2 separate regions of the Homo sapiens genome follow, and region 2 is linked to region 1. The links are contacts of gene promoters, found by promoter capture Hi-C in blood cells and fetal thymus (Javierre and others, 2016). All regions are on one chromosome and are shown on one strand. Each heading gives the region's core, a stretch centred on a gene start or on the middle of the fragment in contact. The rest is flanking DNA. Distances are from core to core; before and after follow the strand shown.

Region 1 (3,641 bases), core at 454-2,953:
GTAGTCCCAGCTACTCGGGAGGCTGAGGCGGGAGAATGGCGTGAACACAGGAGGCGGAGCTTGCAGTGAGCCGAGATCGCACCACTGCACTCCAGCCTGGGCGACACAGCAAGACTCCATCTCAAAAAAAAAAGACACGGCTGGATCCCTGCGTAAGGGATGGTTTGGCCCAGATGGTCCACTGCGGCTAAGGGCGGGGGTAGAGCAGAGGCCCCACCTCAGCTCAGGGCAGGGGACCCGCAGCTGGTTCAGCCACCTCAATGAATACAGAGGTTCCTGGGGCCTGTGAAGGCTAGAAAATGAAGGGGGCAGGGAAGCATGCCAGTGTGTGTTCTTCTGCCGCCTTCCCTTTGCCCATTTGATGCCTTCCACCTGGATCGCTATTGGGATCCTCTATCTAACCTCCTGGCTGTCCTTCAAGATTCATTTCAAGTCACTCCTTCAAGAAGGCTTTCCTGCCTAGAGGTGTTGCTTCCTCATGGAGGATCTTACCCTGTCATTTTCTGTGTCCCTGTTTGTCTCAAGAACAGGGACGCATCTGATTTATCTCTGTATCCTGTGCACCTAAAATAGAAGAGGCTTGGTAAATATTAAGTGCCACGAGCCCTCTTTTACTAAGGACCTGCCAACATGGGCCCCATTCACACTAATACCATGAAGATAGCCCTTTTCTATACTTCGTCATAAAAAAGTAATACACACACCCGGGCAGCAACTTCCACACAAACAACACATGTGCAAGGAGATCACCATTATTTCCAGCAAAATGCTCCCCAGGGCCGAGCGTGGTGGCTCACTCCTGTAGTCCCAGCACTTTGGGAGGCCAAGGTGGGCGGATTGTTTGAGCCTAGGAGTTTGAGACCAGCCTGGGCAATAGAGTGAGAACCCGTCTCTACAAAAAATACAAACATTAGTCTGGCATGATGGTGCACTCCTGTAGTCCTGGCTACTCCATAGGCTGAGATAGGAGGATGGCTTAAGCCCAAAAGGTGGAGGTTGCAGTGAGTGGAGATAGCACCACTGCGCACTCCAGTCTGGGTGACAGAGCCAGACCCTGTCTCAAAAAAAAAAAAAAAAACAAAAAAAAAAACAGCTCCCCAACAAGATAGCAGGCTACAACATGCATGTGATGAAGCTGATTTGAAGCGCTCAGTGAGAGGTATCTGCATCAAGTTGCAGGAGGAGAAGAGAGAAAGGAGAGATAATCATGTTCCTGAGGTCTCAGCCCTGGATCAGGAAATCATTGAAGTATTAACATATCCTGACATTAAGGAAATGCTGATGTTTTTGGACTTTGGCAGTCTGTCCAACCTGCAGGTCACTCAGCCAACAGTGGGGATGAATTTCAAAACGCCACGTGGAAGCTGTTTGAATCTTTTTGAGATACTGTAATATTTTCAATAAACCTGGGACAACAGCAAAAAAAAAAAAAAAAAAAAAAAGGCCCCAAGCAACAAGCAGTGTGTGTGGGGCTGATAGGAGTGAGGAAAGGAGGTCGGACAGTTATGCCAGCCCCTATCGAGAGTCCCAGCAATACAAAGAACAGGGCCAGGGTTTGCTCCAGGATTTCCCCAGTGGACTACAACTCCCGGAAGGCAGAGAAGTGGACTACAGCTCCCAGAAGGCTGCGCGACATACAGCCAGCCCGGTGCTCTCGTGAGGCGTGCCAGTCAGATTCCGCGGGAGAGCGGCAGAGATACCGCGATATTTGGGAGCGGCCCCGAGACGCGCCTGGCGCGGGTGAGCAGTGGAAGGGGGCTGGGAAGCTGGGTTCTCGCGGCGGCGCGGGAGGGGAGGTTCGGGGAGCTGTGTCCGCGAGCGTGGGTCCACGGCTGTCTGTGTGTGTCCTTATTTTCCCCTGTGTGCCCATGAAGCTCTGTTTGCGACTGTGCGTGGGTAGGCGGCCGTCCATCTGTGCGACCTCACTTTCCCGGCTGTACGGGTGGGGCCGCCTGGAGCAGGAGGGACCCCCGAGCCCTGAGTGGAGGGTTTGCATCTGTACCCGTCCAGCCCGACTTTGTGCTGCTCTGCGATTATTTGTCCAGTGTCGTTTAATCTAGTTTAAATGATGGCCGTGTCAGCTCCTCACACTGAACGCTTACCCGGGCTGCCCAAAGTACAAAGTGTATTTAAAAAGTTGGTAAAATTAAAAAAGGAAAGCCATGGGATGTTGGAAGTAGCCCTAGGCCTGCCAAAAAGTGCTGAGTGCTATTTAAAAATTAGGCCAAATCTTGTCAGAAAAGAACTTCCTGCTGTCCTTGAAGTATTTGGAAGCAGGTGCTAGATGGTGAGCAGGAGAGGTTGCCAAGTTGGGGAAGTGGTGGTTGTCCTGGAGCAGGGGTTTCCACATCTCTCACAGTGGCTGGGAAGTAGCAATTCGCAGTCACTGCCTTTCTAGTAGCCCACGTGTGTGAGTGTGTGTGTTAGATACATTTATCCCTCAGTATCCGCAGGGGATTGCTGTATACTTTTTTTTTTTGAGACAAGGTCTCATTCTGTGACCCAGGCTGGAGTGCAGTGGCAGGAACATGGCTCACTGCAGCCTCGACCTCCTGGGCTCAAGGGATCCTCCTGCCTCAGCCTCCTGTGTAGCTGGAACCACAGGCATAAACAACCATACCCGGCTAATTTTTATTTTATTTCATTTTTGTAGAGACAGGGTCTCACCATGTTGCCCAGGCTGGTCTCAAACTCCTGGCTCAAGCTATCCTCCTTCCTTGGCCTCTCAAAATGCTGGGATTACAGGTGTGAGCCACCACATCACCCTCCTGTATACTCTTTTTTCTTTTCTTTTTTTTTTTTTGAGTCAGGGTCTCACTCTTGTCTCCCAGGCTGGAGTGTAGTGGTGCAATCATAGCTCACTGCATCTTCGAACTCCCTGGGCTCAGATAATCCTCCCACCTCAGCCTCCCAGGTAGCTGGGACTGCAGGCACGTGCCACCACGCCCTCCATATAATTTAAATAATCTCTAGATTACTTATAAAACCTGATACAGTGTAAATGCTATGTAAATAGCTACACACTTTTTTTTTTTTGTGGTACTATTATTATATTTTGAAATGGTCTCTCTCTGTCACCCAGGCTGGAGTGCAGTGGCACAAACATGGCTCACTGCAGCCTTCTAGGCTCAAGCGATCCTCCTGCCTCAGCCTCCCAAGTAGTTGAGACCACAGGCATGTGCCACCACACCTCACTAACTTTTAAATTTTTTGTATGGGGTCTTGCTATGTTACCCAGGCTGGTCTCGAGTACCTGGGTTTGCTCAATCCTCCCACCTTGCCCTCTTAAATTGCTGGGATTACAGGTGTAAGCTGGAGCAGAAGCCTGGGCAGCCGGTAGTGAGGGGCTTTGATGTTAGGCTAAAGGATTCAGGCTCATAATGGATCTTGGATCCCTGCCTACCCACCACCCACTTCCCTTGTTTGGTTCTGCTTTGTCTTAGGCTCAGTTCTCATCCTTCCTGTATTGAGCTTGAACGTATACCCTGTCTGGCCTTGCTTTCCTTGCTCTGTCTTTAGTCTGGTTCTGTGCCAGCTCCACCTTTGCCCATATAGGGACTGGCAGGTATCCCTGAAACCTAAAACTCTGCCCTGAATTAAACTCATCAGAGGAGACTTAAACATCACAAGCTGAGGCTCTT
Region 2 (3,641 bases), core at 336-2,835, 340 kb after region 1:
GAGGGTGGGAGTCAGGGAAGGAAGAGACACACCAAGGCCTGGGGCTGGCCCCTCCTTACCAAGCACACTTGGGGAAAACAGCCACCCCCTACCCCCCGACTACCTCGGTGTGGAAGCGGACATAGGGGCAGCCAACGTCCAGCACAACCTCCTGGCTAAGCCGACTGTTGGGGCTGATCTGTAGCAAGAACCAGGCGCTGCCCCGCAGGCCGCCCTCGGTGCCCACTGCCAGGGTCCCTGCCTGGCCCAGCACAGGCTTCCTATGGGACAGGGGTGGACATACTGATCCAGAGCAGCCTGTGTTCCCACCACCTCCACCATCCCCACATGCTGCCCAGCCTATACCGTGTCTCCAGGTGGTAGTCCATGACGTCCCATGCATCCCAGTACAAGGGGACATCATCAAATAGCACAAACTGGTTCCCCACGGCGCCCTCAGCAATGGCCTCCCTGGAAGGACATGGGATTGGTGCTGTACAACCAACTGACCTCGCTGTCTCCAGCTGCTCTTGGTGGGGTAGGGTGGAGTGAGTAGACCCAGTGGACAGGGGACTACTGCCCAGCCTGCCCTGCTCCATGTGTGGGTTCCAGCCCAGAGCCACTGGTGGGCTGCTGTGGGCAGTGTTGTGGCAAGGGGAGAGAGGAAATGGCCTGGGGTCTACTTGCCAGGCACTGGGAAAGGGCAATGAGGATTTGGCACCTGCCAGAGGCCACCAGGACCAAGGACGTCAGGCGACCAGTTGGGTCCAGCTTCACTCGGATGATGCCATTGTCCAGAGTCACGGAGCCATCAGTCTTTGTGGGAGGAGGCCTTGAGGCTGAGTCTGTAGGGGCTTCCCACACCAAAAGTCTTCCCACCCCAACCCCAGCCCCGCCTCACCACTTGCTCCAGACAGGGGAGCTCAGGACCCTCAGTTGTAAGAAAGTATCCCAGCACAGTTCCTGCCCCCCAGGGCATGCAGGACTCACCTCTTGCACTACGAACACAGGCTGCTGGGGCAGCAGGGGCTGCAGTGAGGTGGGGGGAGGAACAGGAGCATAGCCCATGCTGGGCACTGTCACCAGGGCTGGGGGTGAGGCCTGGGCATCAGTGCAGCCTTCCTGACCTTTCAGGAAGCTTGCGCAGGTGGGGATGGGTTGGTGGAAGATGTGCTACTACTCTCCAGTCAGGGGCACCCAGATCCCTCGGGGTATCCCAGGCCTGATCTGTCTGGCCTCCATCCTTCCTGCTGCAGTAGCAACCCTTCCCCTCAGCTCGTACCTAGGCTGTGGGCCCCGCCCGGTTTGGGCAGGGCCATCACTTCGATCCGCTTCCAGGGCAGTGTGTTGACGATGAGGAGGCCCTCAGGACCTGGCTCCCCAGCACACAGGGCTGCGGCTGCAGCGCTGAGCAGTGTATTGCCATGGGAACGGATGTCTGAGGAAAGACTGGCTGGTCATAGGTGGGCAACAGGTCTGGAATGTGCCCATGGGTATCCCACAGGGGACACTCTGGGCTCAGCCCTGGGGTTGGAGAGAGCAGGCAGGACTATTGTGAGCCTAACCTTCATAATGGCACATGGCTTCCTCTGCCACCATCTGGATGCAGCTTCCAGTCACCACATCATGGAACTGGTTCAGAAGAAGGAGCCTGCAGGGGCCAAGGGCAGGGATGGGAAGGCTGGGAGGGGCAGGCACAGAGGTAACTGCAGTGAGCAGTCAGGTGGATGGCAGGGACAGAACTGGGCTGACCTCCAGAGGTGCTGCAGCTGGGCTGCTGGGTATAGGAACTGGGCACTGCGGGCCAGGGCCAGGCTACTGAGCAGCTCCACGTCGTGCAGGATCCGCTCACATTCCCGGTTCCCCTTCTTGATCTGAGCCCAGGATGGGAAGATTAGTCTGGAGCCTGCTTAGCTGTCCCAGGACACCTTCCAAAGCCCTCCCTTGCTCAGAATCCCTGAGGACTCACCAAGGGCCTCGTGGAGAAGGCCTCTGGCGGGTGACCTGCCTTAAATGCCTTCCCTCTTCTCCCCGCAGCCCAAACCCTTCTTTCTTCAGGGGTTTCTGCCTCCTTCAAGCTTTCTTGACCAACCCAGGTCTTGAACTTCTCTCCTCCAAACTTCTCTTCCCCTAGATCTGGCCTGGGCTCTGTCCCCTGCTGCCTTCTCTGACCCTCTGCAGATCAAGGGCACACCCTCCCTGCACAGCCCTGCAACCTCCCCCTGACCTGGGCATGGGTGGTGTATGTGCCATTGTGCAGCTCCAAGAAGAGCTCCCCAACCCACGTGCACAGCTGCTCTGAGTCACTCTCCAGTGCTGAGAAGAGCTGTCTTGGAGAAGATAGCTGCACCCTGAGGAGACCACAAGCCTAGGTCTCCCAGCCTTGGAGACCACATGGCTCACCCTTCTTCCACACCAAAGCAAAGGATCCAGCTCCTACAGAGAGGAGCCACTCCAGAAAGCTCCCCGTTCACAGATGGCCAGCCCTGGACGCCCTAGGAGAGCCTCTCTCTCTGATGGGCTGGAGCCCTTACCAGCTTCAGCTTCTCCCCCACCCACCCCCAGGGTGGAAGTTTGGAGGAACCCGTGGTCTAGGATTGGGACAGGACAAGGTCCAGAGGAGGGGTTGGGCCCAATGTCTGAGGGAAGGCAGGGCTCATGGCAAGGGCCCAGGGTGGGGCTAAAGGAGAGCCAAGGCCTGGCCTGACCTGGGCAGCCCATCCGTATTGCTCAGGCGCTTCAGGCGGTCCAGCATGGTCTGGGTGGGGCCACCACCCCCATCCCCAAAGCCAAAGAGGAAGGCACTGTGGTTGGCCCGCCCCTTGTCCCGGTTGTTGGCCACGGTCTTCAGCACCTAGACAGGTGAGGGCAGGCCAGCATGGATCAGCCTGGAACAAGCCAGCCCTCTCCAGCCTGCCCCTACCCCACCACCCTAGGTGACCCCTCACCTCCTCCACGCTGCCCTGCATCCCATAGGAGTCGCCAGGTGGGAAGTGGACCAGTACACGGGAGCCATCCAGGCCCTCCCAGAAAAATGTATGGTGCTACCAGCAGGGAAACAGAAGCAGGGCAGAGAGGCCAGAGTCAGGGCTGAGGCAGAGCCAGGCCTTCCAGACTTGGTCCTGCCCCTGCCTGCTATGTGACCCTGGCAGAGGCAGAGTGAGGGTTTGGTGGTCTGTCTAGGACCCCACAATAAGGGGGAGAGGCAAATGGGCCAGGCGGGACTGAGGCCCACTCTGACCCTGACCCCCCGGGGGCCTGCTTACTGGGAAGGAGTTCACCAAATTCCAGCTCAATTTCTGGGTGAGAAAGCGCCTGATGCCACAGCCGTGCATGATCTGGGGGAGCTGTGCTGAGTAGCCAAAGGTGTCCGGCAGCCAGAACTGTGGAGAAAGAGGATCCTGGAGTGCAGGAACCAGAGCTCCAGGCGGACTCACCCCAGCCTCAGCCCCTCAGCACTCCAAGTCGAGCGCCAGCCCCACTCGCCCACAGCCTGGTGTAGCAGCTCTCAGCCTACCTCAGAGCACATCTTCCCAAACTCCTGCAGAAAGAAGTTCTGGCCCTGCAAAAACTGCCTCACCATGGCCTCTCCACTGGGCAGGTTCCCATCCTGGCAGTGAAGGAAGTGGGAGGCAGCCCAGGTCAGCGCTGGACGGGGAGCA

The links. The method cuts DNA at HindIII sites, captures the fragments that hold promoters and counts their contacts. A CHiCAGO score of 5 or more calls a contact.
Region 2: a contact is called between a fragment that was not itself captured here and the fragment with the promoter of PPCDC in region 1, in 1 of 17 cell types (neutrophils). The highest score is 5.5, in neutrophils.

The regions. Positions count from the first base shown.
Region 1 is chr15:75,021,887-75,025,527 of GRCh38, forward strand. PPCDC (phosphopantothenoylcysteine decarboxylase) reads left to right here and starts at 1,704. Exons shown (of 6, transcript NM_021823.5): 1 at 1,704-1,740. The HindIII fragment of the contact is 7,713 bases long and covers 1-3,641 here.
Region 2 is chr15:75,358,359-75,361,999 of GRCh38, forward strand. MAN2C1 (mannosidase alpha class 2C member 1) reads right to left here. Exons shown (of 26, transcript NM_006715.4): 9 at 3,497-3,589; 10 at 3,246-3,362; 11 at 2,928-3,023; 12 at 2,688-2,833; 13 at 2,207-2,330; 14 at 1,732-1,853; 15 at 1,545-1,630; 16 at 1,262-1,417; 17 at 970-1,067; 18 at 701-795; 19 at 346-450; 20 at 104-260. Among named protein-coding and RNA genes, the nearest start is that of MIR631, 6.5 kb to the left of the region's middle. The HindIII fragment of the contact is 940 bases long and covers 1,116-2,055 here.